Regions from separate parts of the Homo sapiens genome. Here region 2 is linked to region 1. The links are contacts of gene promoters, found by promoter capture Hi-C in blood cells and fetal thymus (Javierre and others, 2016). All regions are on one chromosome and are shown on one strand. The core of a region is centred on a gene start or on the middle of the fragment in contact, and the rest is flanking DNA. Distances in the headings are between cores, read along the strand shown. Region 1 holds the start of ANAPC13 (anaphase promoting complex subunit 13). Region 2 holds the start of GSK3B (glycogen synthase kinase 3 beta).

Region 1 (5,726 bases), core at 1,548-4,047:
AACGAGGCCCTCAAATATTAATATGTTGCATCTCAATGTAGCTCTTCTCTTCTAACTTGAACATTCACCTTTTCCTGTTTGTGATGCCTTTGATGAGTCCCTGATTCATAATGGCCAGCTAAGTTTCCTTTCTAGCCCCTGGCTCAAACCTCAGCATTCTTAGGCACAGGAGTCACACGAACATACTGTAAAGGAAACGGCTTCCTTCCCTAAAATAGTACCCAGGCTGAGATCTGAATAAAGCACTTCTAGGTGAACACCAGTGGTAGAACCTCATACTGCTAAAGTTTCTCCAGTTTCTGCTTCCCTTTGGGGTAGCTCCTTCCTCGGAGGTTCCTTCCTCTAATTCTTAACGCTACACTCCCTTCAATTTCTGGCCCAAATGGTCACGATGCTTATTTAGCTCCTTGACCATGGCTGATTCCCCATTTTTCTCTGAAACTGCTATAATCTAATCCAAAAGGCTGGCTAGCTTGTAGGATACTTCTGGATTTCCCTGTTTCCAAGGTTGGGCCCTGACTCATCATAGGCATCATCCTATGGGTGCTCCCTGCTACCAAGTGACAATCCAAAAAGCCCGGAAGCCACTGGCATCAAAGGTACTCTCAGTTTCTGAGACTATGGAGACTCACACAATAAGCAATTTTGGGGTGGTGGAGCGGGGTGGAACCCACCATCTGGAGGTGCTTTTTTCAGAGCTCAGCCTGGGTGATATTTTAAGGAAGGAAGCCATTTCCTTTACAAGCTCAACTTCAGACATCGTCTTGCCTTGAGGATTTGTGTCAGGTCTGTAGTTGGTCCCTTCGCATAGTCCAGTTTAGTGTTATCTCAGTATGTTCATGAGCTCCTGTGCCTAAGAACGCTGAGGTTTGGGCCAAGGCAGGTGGAAGTTTTTGTAAAAATGGCTCACAGGGCCGGGCGCGGTGGCTCGCGCCTGTAATCCAGCACTTTGGGAGACCGAGGTGGGCGGATCACGAGGTCAGGAGATCAACACCATCCTGGCTAACAGGGTGAAACCTCGTCTCTACTAAAAATACAAAAAATTAGCCGAGCATGGTGGCAGGCGCCTGTAGTCCCAGCTACTCGGGAGGCTGAGGCAGGAGAATGGCGTGAACCTGGGAGGCGGAGCTTGCAGTGAGCCGAGATAGCGCCACGCGCCACTGCACTCCAGCCTGGGCGACAGAGCAAGATTCCGTCTCGGAAAAAAAAAAACAAAAAAAACCAAAAAGGCTCACAGCTGTCCCCCATAGGATAACTGCAAGATATCCCTAACACCTTGGCAAAAATTATACACAGATTGGTGTGGGAAAGGGTTTACACCCCCATGACAAGGATCTCGGCAAAAGTTAAGCAAAATGCGCCCTGCTACTTCTGTCACCGGTGAGCCAGGTGAGGGCTTAATTAATCCAGTACTCAATAATTAACCGAGTACTACCCAGTGGATAACTCAAAGCAAGACGAAGTTTTGGTTATACTTTTGAAGTCCCTGTCTTACAAGTGCTCCCCACTTTCCTGCTGCTACTCCTTTGTCCTTGCTGCTCTGTCTCCTGGGATACCCTTCTCACTTTCCTCAGCTGATCCAAACCTGACTTTCGGAGGCCCACGTAGATTTTCCACCTTTGTAAAGTTTTCTCAAATCACTCGAGCTTCAGTAGGCCTTCTATCCTTGAACTCTTGCTTCTTGTCCTAACTTAATCTACTAAACAAGCTAGGTCAGCTTTGTGGTCAATTGCTCAGGTATTATTGCCTCCAACTGTTACGTGTACATTTTGTACCCATGATTCCTTAGTAGATCTTTCCACATTTGGTCTCAATCTTTTTCACCTGTCCCTTCTCCAAACACCTCCAACCCTGTCACATTTTCCAGCCTTGACAGTTAAAACCCCCTTTTCCACATCACTAATGCCACTCTTCCTTTCAAGATAAACGCAGGCGTCAGCTCTTGAAGGTCAACATCCCATTTCCGGGATTAGGCGCGAAGGTGCCTTCCCTCATAAGGGGCTGGAAGGATGGGAAGCATCAAGATAATCAATGCCCAGGGCACACTGATTATCTTGTGTATTAAAGCCACCGTCCCAAGTACTCGTCACCCAGTACGACCACTGTTTCCTGAACAAACTTTTCTTACTCACGTGACAGTCCCGATGCCTGCAATGCTCTTTGTTTCTTCCTTTTTATTCCAGTGAACCCACAGTCAGTCTAAAAATCTTAGGTCCCAGGTCGCTTCCTATAGGAGGCCGCCTCCAAACCCCAGGCTGAGTGCGGTCCCGGTACCCACCCCTCCAGGGGTCTCACAGTTCCCTAAGCACAGAGCATGGCACCAACTGGGGAGTCTGTCAAACAGCCCAGATGAATGTCTTTCCAAACACGCGGTGCCTGCGTTTCCAGGGACAGGGACACGTCTTATCAATTTCTATATATTACAGCTTTGTAAACATAATATTTATAAAATCAAAGCGGGAAAGCCTTGTTCCTTGCTAGAAATGAGCCTCGCAGGCCACCACCATCCGCACCGTACGACAGGCCGTCCCTCAGCTGCGGCTTCCTGCCTCAGGCAGGATGTACCAAACGTGGAAGCGGAGACGGGGAGGTCTGGGGGTGCCACGCAAGTCCCTTTCCTCCCGACACGAGTGCAGTAAAGAAAAACGGTTATGAGCGTAAAGTGACAGCCTCGGCCGATGGGAATAGGGGGAAGTCCGACACTGAGCAACGAACGCATTCCCGCGCCTCCAAAACCTAGGCCGGGGGCGCTGGAAACCCTTACCGGCACCCGGCCACCGCGGCAGACGCTTGCTCCTGCCACGCCCCCCCCCCCTCCCCCGCATCACGTGTCTGCACTCGCTTTCCTCGGATTCCCGGATGTGGGTGAGTTCATTTGCTCGCGTGCAGGGGAAGTCTGGAGAAGGCATTGTTTCAATTATTAAAAGTGTGGGGGCAGTGGGCGGAACAAACGCGCCGACTACAGAGGCTGGACGTAAGCTTAGCGGTGGCGCGCGTGCGCAGCGCCGGCCCGAGGTAACGGCGGGAAGGCTCAGGGGCGTGCTTGCGGCAACCCTGTAACCGCCGGTGCGCAAGTTGGAGGGGCAAGGGGCTGCCGTGTCCTGGTCTGGAGGCGGCCCAGGCTGCCTTGGTGATTCTGGCTTCGCGGCCTCATGGCTTGCGGCCGGTTTGCGCAACGGCCTGCGAACCACCAGGCGCGTCCCCGCCGGCTTGGGTCCGCCCCGAAGCCCAGTCCCTCGGCCTGGCCCGCTATGCCCTGCACACTGGCGGAGTCTGGCGTGGCGCAGCCCGGCGTGGGGTTCGGCCCCGCCAGGTGGTCAGCCCTTCCTCGGAGTCCAGGTGGCTGGGGGCGCTTCGGAGAGTGGCCAGGTGGGCGAGCGAGCTGCGCCCAGTACTCACCTTCCCCGGCGGACCCACCTTCCTTTTCAGCGGAGAGACCCCAGTGCGGCCTCCCTGCCAGGGCTGCTGTCTAGCTAGCGCTGTTGGGACTACTTCATTCACGGCACAAGGGGACCCGCTCATTTAGTGTGGCATGTTAAGGTTGGCAGCTTTTAAAATAGTGAGTTGGTTTAAACGGTTATGTTAGTACAAGAGGTACGGAAATGTGGCATAAATCGTGGACTGAAATTGGAGAACCCTGAACTAACGGCTCCATGCACACAAATGAGGGATAGAAAGAAATAAGGACGGTTTCTTAGGAACACTTTAATCATGGAGATACTTGAAGACAGTACATTTAGGCTTATAATGTGGTTTTTCTTACGTCCCTTACGACATCAGGAGAGTAAAGATGAGTATGATGTCAGAGACAGGTCGTCTTTTACAGTTTCAGCACCGTACGCTGATATGCACAGAGTAGTTTTCCCTGAGCCTTATGTCTGGTTAAACTTATTAAAAGAATTTATTATTTTAATAAAGCAGTATTGTAGGGTAGATGCCCTGTATTTATACAGTTCCTCAAGTGCTTGCATTTATTTTTTAGATACGAGGAAATCATAAGGATCGTTGATTAGATTTCTGTTAGCTGTAGCTTAATGATAAAGTGTATATATTTTCTTATTTGGCATGCAGTACCATTTTTAGATTGATTTTTATTTTGAGTTTGCTTTTTGACTGTGGCATTATCAGTGATCAGGGTAGTAAAAAGCTCTGAAACTAAATTAGAGTAGAGATTTATAAACAGGCACACTGCCTTTTAAAATGTATGTAGATGCAAATCTAAAAGTTGTTTGTAAAAATTGTGTATGTTGATTGTACTGATGCCATTTCCTCTCGTTAAAATGGTGGAAGACCTTTGCTTAGTCCTTTCTGTTCTAATTTATGTTGTGCTGGCAGATGGTGACAGCATCAGTAGTCCACTCTGTCATTGCTTCCTGCTTTCAAAAAATGTCAACTTGACTTGAAATTCAGCTAAAGCCAACATTGACAGAAGGTTTCAGGAACTGAATCTCCGATCTTTATGTTATTTTAGTCCGCCTCCCCGCCCCCATCAGGAGCTAGGTTTTTCAGTTTTACAGAGCCACAGTACTGTCATTACACATACACAAATTAATAAAAATTCTCTAATGTCAATATCCAGTCAGATAACGATTTCTTCAACTGTCTCTTAAATGTCTTTTTACAATTAGCTTGTTTGAACCAAAATCCCACAGGGATCTGCCTATTGTGTTTGGGTGATGCACATTTGACATCTTTTAATCTATATTTGTTCCCTCATAGTTATAGCTATGGGATTAGCCCCTATTTTTCCTTACAGTTCTAAATTTAGCAGATTGCATCGCACAGTATCCTTTAACATGTATCTCTGTTGCCTTTGTGTCCTCTAAACCAGGGGCCCCCAAACCCGGGGCCGCAGAGCAGTACCAGTCCGTGGCCTGTTAGGAACCAGGCTACAGAGCAGGAGGTGAGTGACAGGCTAGTGAGCATTACCTACCACCTGAGCTCTGCCTCCTGTCAGATCAGCCGTGAGGTTAGATTCTCCTAGGGGCACGAACCCTATTGTAAACTGCGCATGCAAGGAATCTAGGTTGCACACTTATAAGAATCTGACTAATGCCTGATGATCTGAGGTGGAATAGTTTCATCCTGAAACCATGCCCCTAACCCTGTCCATGTGTATTATTCATATTACTGAAGAAGTGGTTGGCCGGGCGCGGTGACTCACGCCTGTAATCCCAGCACTTTGGGAGGCCGAGGTGGGCATGAGGTCAGGAGTTTGAGACCAGTGTGGCCAACATAGTGAAACCCCGTCTCTACTGAAAATGCAATAAAATTAGCCGAGTGTGGTGGTGTGCGCCTGTAATCCCAGCTACTCGGGAGGCTGAGGCAGGAGAATCACGTGAATCCGGGAGGCGGAGGTTGCAGTGAGCCGAGATCACACCATTGCTCTCCAGACCAGGCAAGAGTGCAAGACTCGGTCTCAAAAAACAAAAAAAAGTGGTTTGGCCATTCCTCCCCCAAAACATTTCATATGAATTTTAACAAAAAGATATTTACAAAATGTGTTATTTCCGCCCTGTCGGTGTTGAGAAATTGTCTTCCATGAAACAGGTCCCTGGTGCCAAAAAGGTTGGGGACCACTGCTCTAAACCAGTAGTTAGATGTAGAATTGCACTGTCCGGTATTGTAGCCACCAGCCAGCAGTGGCTAGTTAATTAAAGTGAAATAAAATTAAAAATTCAGTTCCTAGGCTGGGCGCGGTGGCTCACGCCTGTAATCCCAGCACT
Region 2 (5,726 bases), core at 1,199-3,698, about 14 Mb before region 1:
GTGTGTGGGTTCTTAAAATCTCAGTTCTTTAGTTCTCTCAGTTCTTCTAGGCAACAAATTAATTTGTCTTTGCCCTCATGATGCCCCTCTTTCCCACAATAAGGAAACAATATAGATATTTTTGTTAAATTCTGCAAGTATGTTTAAACAAGCTATCATTAAATACCACATGAACTTCTCCATAAATAGAGATACACTGGAACATTAGATACTTAGTATATATTAAACACTTCAAGAGCATACTTTTCAGCACAAACCCAGGACAAGAGTAGTCTATCCACAACCCTGAACACAGCCCAAATATCCCTATTATTTCTAGGACCATAGCCATCTGCAAAAGCCAAAATGGAAAGGACTAAATCCACATTCTTCTAACTAAATCCACAGTTATCTAAATATGATGGAAACTAACGCTAGAGTGTTTTAAATCGTCCTTTTTAAGGAACCCGCCAGAACATTTAACAGGTAATGAATGCAGTAGCACTCCAAAATTGAACTTAAATGTAATGAGCCAGTGACAACATTTAACTTAGTATTTGGCACTATGACAAAACAAATCTCAATCAAAACTTGGACCTATTAATACTTCCAAGTTAACTTTTGATTAAACATAAATTATACGGTGGCAGGTTGGTAATGTCAAAACAGGAAGGTTAAGAGATAACACATCAAACCACTTATCCAATTGAACACAAATGCATACAGAGATGTTACTGCTGCTAGGTATTTATTGGCTCCCACTAGTCCCTTCTAAAGAGAGAAATCAATGGCAGCCTCCAAATGTGAATGGTTACTGAGGAAGTTCATCCACAGATTAAGAACAAATATTATGTGTAGTCATACAAACAAGAAAAAAATGTTGGGAGGGTGGGACATTTAACGTCTCTATTAAGTATATCAAACTATGATAACCCCTGAGACCTAAAATATTCTCTCATTCCAAATTCCAAAAATTCTGCAAATGTGCATAATGGTTTAGTAATCAAATCTTGTCCTTCTCTTTATTCTAAAGGATGGGCAAGTAAACACTGTCATCACTACTTTAACGTGGAAACACTCGAGCACTTGATGAAACTGACTACCAACAGCAAGAAAAGTACAAGAAAGCAGTTTGAAATCGAATCATCCAAATAAATATCATATTATCTCAATTCAAGGTTAATGAGACCGGGGGAGGGGGTATGGGAGGAGTAAAAAGGGAGCTGCTTCATCCTTGACTGAAGATAGGTTTTGCCCTTTTCCATTGCCTGTTTATCAGGAGGTCTAATAATTTCAGATCCTGGTATTTCGAGGTTTCTTATTTTAAGGGCGAGGTGGAAAAGGGGTGTAAAATAAAACCAATACTCACTGCTAACTTTCATGCTGCCAAAAGCTGAAGGCTGCTGCACCGGCTTGCAGCTCTCCGCAAAGGAGGTGGTTCTGGGCCGCCCTGACATGATCACTCTCTTCGCGAATCACCTTTTCCTTCCTTCCTCCTTTTCTTCCTTTTGTCTTTATGTTGGGGTGTTAGGTTAACGATAAATGCAGCATTAAGTTCTCCCACAGAAGAAAAAGAAAAAGACTTCGTCCTCTTGGCTTTTCACTCCTTTTGTATACTATAAAAAACAAAACAAGCGATATATTTCTCCTTCAAGACAGATCGGCACGGATATTTAACATATAGATGATTTAGGACTTGGGAAAAAATACAATTCTTTCCCCTCCCTTTCCTGGGAGGAGAGAAAAGAGAGGGCAAATCCTAAAAAAATATGTATCACGTGAAACGGGGGCAAATACTTGATTGAAAATGAGTACTTCGAATATTATATTTTCCTCGGGGATTTTTTTTCCGAGTCAATGAAGAAGGGAAGCGGCGGAAGGATCACGAGTCTCACGCTTGAAGAGAAAGGGGGATGGGTAGGAGGGAGGGAGAGGGAGGGAGGGGGTGGCTCGGAGATGCGACGGGAAACGCTGCAGCTCCGGCAAGCCGCGGGATCCGGCGGGCTGACGGCAGGGGCCCGGCGAACTAGAGGGCGGCGGAGTCGCGAGTCAGTCAGAGGCGGGCGGTGGCGGTGGCGGCGGCTCCTCTCCTCATTGCGCCAGGAGCAGCTGCAGGCGGCGGCTGGATCCAGCGGCCATGGCGGTGGCGGAGGCAGCTCCCTTCAGACCCCAGGCAGCGGCTCCTCGACTGTTCCCCATTCGCCGGGGACATGGGAACCCGGCAACCGCTTCCGTCCCTCGGGGCCCCCTCCCCCGTCCGCGGCAACAGCTCGGCCGCCCTCCCGCCCCTCGGCTCTGCTCGGTGCCCGCTCAGGAAGTGTCCGCGCTTTGCCCCAGCCCAGAGCCCTGTCAGCGGCTGCGGGGCCGGCTCCTCCTCGCTTCCTTCCTTCCTTTGTCACTTGGCCCGGGCGGCGGCGGCGGCGGCGGCGGCACAAGCCCGCATTCGCCCGGGTCAGGAGCTGCTCTGTGTGAGGAGCGCTGTCTGCGCAGCCGCCTTGCACTTCCCCACTCCTCCTCCCCCCTCCTACTCGTCCTCCACCTCCTTCCTCCCCCACCCAGCCTTACACCGCCCAGCGCCCCGCCGCCCGCGTAACAGGCGTCTGGGAATCGCCGGCCGAGCCCCACGCTCGCCCGCTTCGGCTGGGAGCCGAAGCCCGAACGGAGCCAATCACGGACGTCGTTTGTTTGCGGCTCCTCCCGGAAAAAGCCGATCAGCCTGAGAAACCAATTAGAAAGTGACGCTGGGAAGCCACGCCCAAAGAGCGGAAAATGCCGAAGGTAGCCGAACGGAAAGGGTGAATTCGCCTTGTTCGGTGGCTGGCTGGAGGAGACATTCGACAATGGCAACAGTGGCCAATCAGAGTCGCCGGCCCTTACGAAGAGGCTTGAAGAGTTGAGGACGGTGAAACCCAGAGACGCTGGTGAAACTGCACGGCTGGGCGCCGCCGCCGCTTTGTGATTGGCTGGAAAACTCCGCTGGGAGCGTACCTCCTTCGGTGATTGGTGAAGAGAAGGGGGCTTCCGAGGACAGTCTGGCCAGTCAGGACTTCCCCTCCCTCTCCAAGGTGGGGAGAAGAAAGCGAAGGGAGGGCGTCTATAAAGCGCTGTCTCATTGGCCTGAAGCTTAGGCGCTGGAGTTGGGGCAAAAGGGAGAGGGAGGGAGCCCGAAACTCGCGGCGGCGGCCAATCGGCTCTCACTGCCGTCCAATCGCAAGACCTAGCTGCAGTGTGATTGGCCTTCGGCCCCGGTCCCAGGAGCGGGGAGATGCCTGACTCGGGTCGTGGCTGACGACCCGACGGTTCGCCTGCGGCCGCCTCCAACAACGGTGGAAACCGCACACAGGGACCGCGGGCCCTCGGTGCAGCAAATCGGAAAGTGCTGCGGTCGGCGGCCCTGGGCTCTGAGCGCTCAAGCGAGCAGAGGGGTGGAGGGGCTCTCCCCACCCACAGGAGGCTCTCGGCGGGGCGCAGCCAATTCTGCGCGCCCAAGGCTCCCCTCTGCCGTGGATCGCGTGTGCCGAGTGTTGGCCTCTTCCCCGAAAGGGCCAGACGGACCAAGGGGGCCTTCCCAGCCGGCTGCAAGCTCTCAGACGCTAAAATGGGAACAAAGCTTCCAGAAAGGCAGCGCCTTTGGGCGGCCGCGCCCCGCCCAGCCGCGGGGGCCATTGATACAGAGGCTTGCTGCGCTTGGTGTGCGCGGCCCGGCCGGGCCTCTGGAAACGCCCATGAGAAATGAGCTCATGCTGGATGCGCGCGCTCCTTGGGCGCAACTGCCCAGCGCAAAACGGGCCCCGAAAGCAGGTGAGGGGAAATGCCGTCAGGCCGGATATCCTGAAGCCTCCGAGGAAATGGGGGGGTCAGAGGAGCCCGTGGTAGCTTTGGATCTTTTGGAACTAGGGTGATCTATAAAAGTGCAGCTTGAGAAGATTTCATACATAAGACCAGCGTCCATTGTTCTACCATAGAACCAGTTCCTTTGGTCTGCTTTAGAACAGTGAGGTATGGCTACGTCAAGATAACAGAGAAAGTAGAACAGACAGTTGCCATCCTGATTGTAATCCAGTGGTGCCTGTAATTTCTACCTGCAGAGTCATCTCTTTCTGTTAAGATGCTGTCTCCAGAAAGCACATGTTAAAGGACCTATATTTGATCAGATTACCTGGCTCTTGCTTTGAAACACTGATGAAGGACTTGGGACAGAACAAAGTAAGCTTTGATGGAAGACAGGAAAGGTCTAGATAGTGTTTGCAGATTCAAATGGCTACAGAGGCCAGACAAGTAAAGCAAATGAGTGAGACTGGCCTTGTGTAAGACAATGGGGAATGATAGGGAAAATGGCAAATTGGAATATCCATGCCATAACTAAAAGGAACAGCTGCTCAACTCTAGCAGATTGTTGCCCTCAGGAATGTGGGTCCAGTGTTCTCAGATGTTCAATTTTTTTCCTCCCAAAAGAAACCCCAAAATTGGATTTTTGTGTGAAATCTCTGCATTTTTAAATGTTGGTAACCAAATTTTCAAACCCTGCAGGCCAACCTAAAAACATCCCTTGGCCAATGAGGCATTGGAAAAAGTGTTAATAATTGTTAGGGGCCCGATAGCAGTAGGAGGGTGAAAACAAAATGGTTTGGGACCTTAAATAATTGAAATGTATCTTTATTTATTTATTTATTTTTGAGACGGAGTTTCACTCTTGTTGCCCAGGCTGGAGTGCAGTGGCGCGATCTCGGCTCACCGCAACCTCCGCCTCCCCGATTCAAGTGATTCTCCTGCCTCAGCCTCCCAAGTAGTTGGGATCACAGGCATGTGCCACCATGCCAGCTACTTTTGTATTTTTAGTAGAGACGGGGTTTCTTCATGTTGGTCAGGCTGGTCTCGAACTCCCGACCTCAGGTGATCTGCCTGCCTCAGCCTCACAGAGTGTCAGGATTACAGGCGTAAGCCACCACACCGGGCCGGTTGAAATTTATCTTTAAAATAGTGCACCTTTAATCCTTTTTTTATTTCTGTGTGTATCTTATAATGTGCATATCATGTTAGCTCAAGATCAAGAGTTTATGGACAAGCCAGGAGTGGTGGCTTATGACTGTAATCCCAGCAATTTGGGAGGCCGAGGCAGGTGGATCGCCTGAGGTTAGGAGTTCAAGACTAGCCTGGTCATCATGGTGAAACCCCGTCTCTACTAAAACTTTAAAACTTAGCTGGGCGTGGTGGCGGGCGTCTATAATACCAGTTACTTGGGAGGCTGAGGCAGGATAATTGCTTGAACCCAGGAGGTGGAGGTTGCAGTGAGCTGAGATCGCACCATTGCACTCCAGCCAAGGCAACAAGAGCAAAACTCCGTCTCAAAAAAAAAAAAAAAAAAAAAGTTTATGAACCACTAGTTTAGACAAAGAATAGTTGTACAGTTGTACAGATGGATAAGGAAGGAAAGAACATTCCAGGCAAAGAGAAAAGGTTATGCAATGGCTGAAATGTTTAACAAGGTATTTGGAGACCTTGAGATAGTTTGAAATTATGTAATGTCTAAGATGTGGGCCAAGAGAAAATAAAGGAAAATATCACAGGATAATAGAGGAGTAAAGTAAACTATGCTGTATTAACTCCATATTAGGCAGCCAGTAAAAATAAATACAACCACCAAAAGTAACTCAGAAATATGTTTAGGAAACAATACTAATTGAAAAATATAGAACTTCAGGTTGTATATCTACCATATTTCCAATCTGTAAAATATAAGTACATTT

What was found. Contacts are between HindIII fragments. The CHiCAGO score rates a contact against its expected background, and 5 or more counts as called.
Region 2: the fragment with the promoter of GSK3B here is called in contact with the fragment with the promoter of ANAPC13 in region 1 in 1 of 17 cell types (total B cells); the score reaches 5.7 in total B cells.

Annotation. Positions count from the first base shown.
Region 1 is chr3:134,483,188-134,488,913 of GRCh38, forward strand. ANAPC13 (anaphase promoting complex subunit 13) reads right to left here and starts at 2,798. Exons shown (of 3, transcript NM_015391.4): 1 at 2,765-2,798. CEP63 (centrosomal protein 63) reads left to right here and starts at 2,870. Exons shown (of 15, transcript NM_001353108.3): 1 at 2,870-3,015. RefSeq lists enhancers at 2,453-2,572, 2,603-2,702, 2,783-2,892, 2,984-3,802. The HindIII fragment of the contact is 3,493 bases long and covers 1-2,977 here.
Region 2 is chr3:120,091,999-120,097,724 of GRCh38, forward strand. It overlaps GSK3B (glycogen synthase kinase 3 beta), which reads right to left and starts at 2,449. Exons shown (of 11, transcript NM_001146156.2): 1 at 1,349-2,449. The coding sequence starts at 1,436. GSK3B-DT (GSK3B divergent transcript) reads left to right here and starts at 3,106. Exons shown (of 3, transcript NR_186629.1): 1 at 3,106-3,780. RefSeq lists enhancers at 2,628-3,037, 2,664-2,958, 3,238-3,557. The HindIII fragment of the contact is 3,897 bases long and covers 1-3,100 here.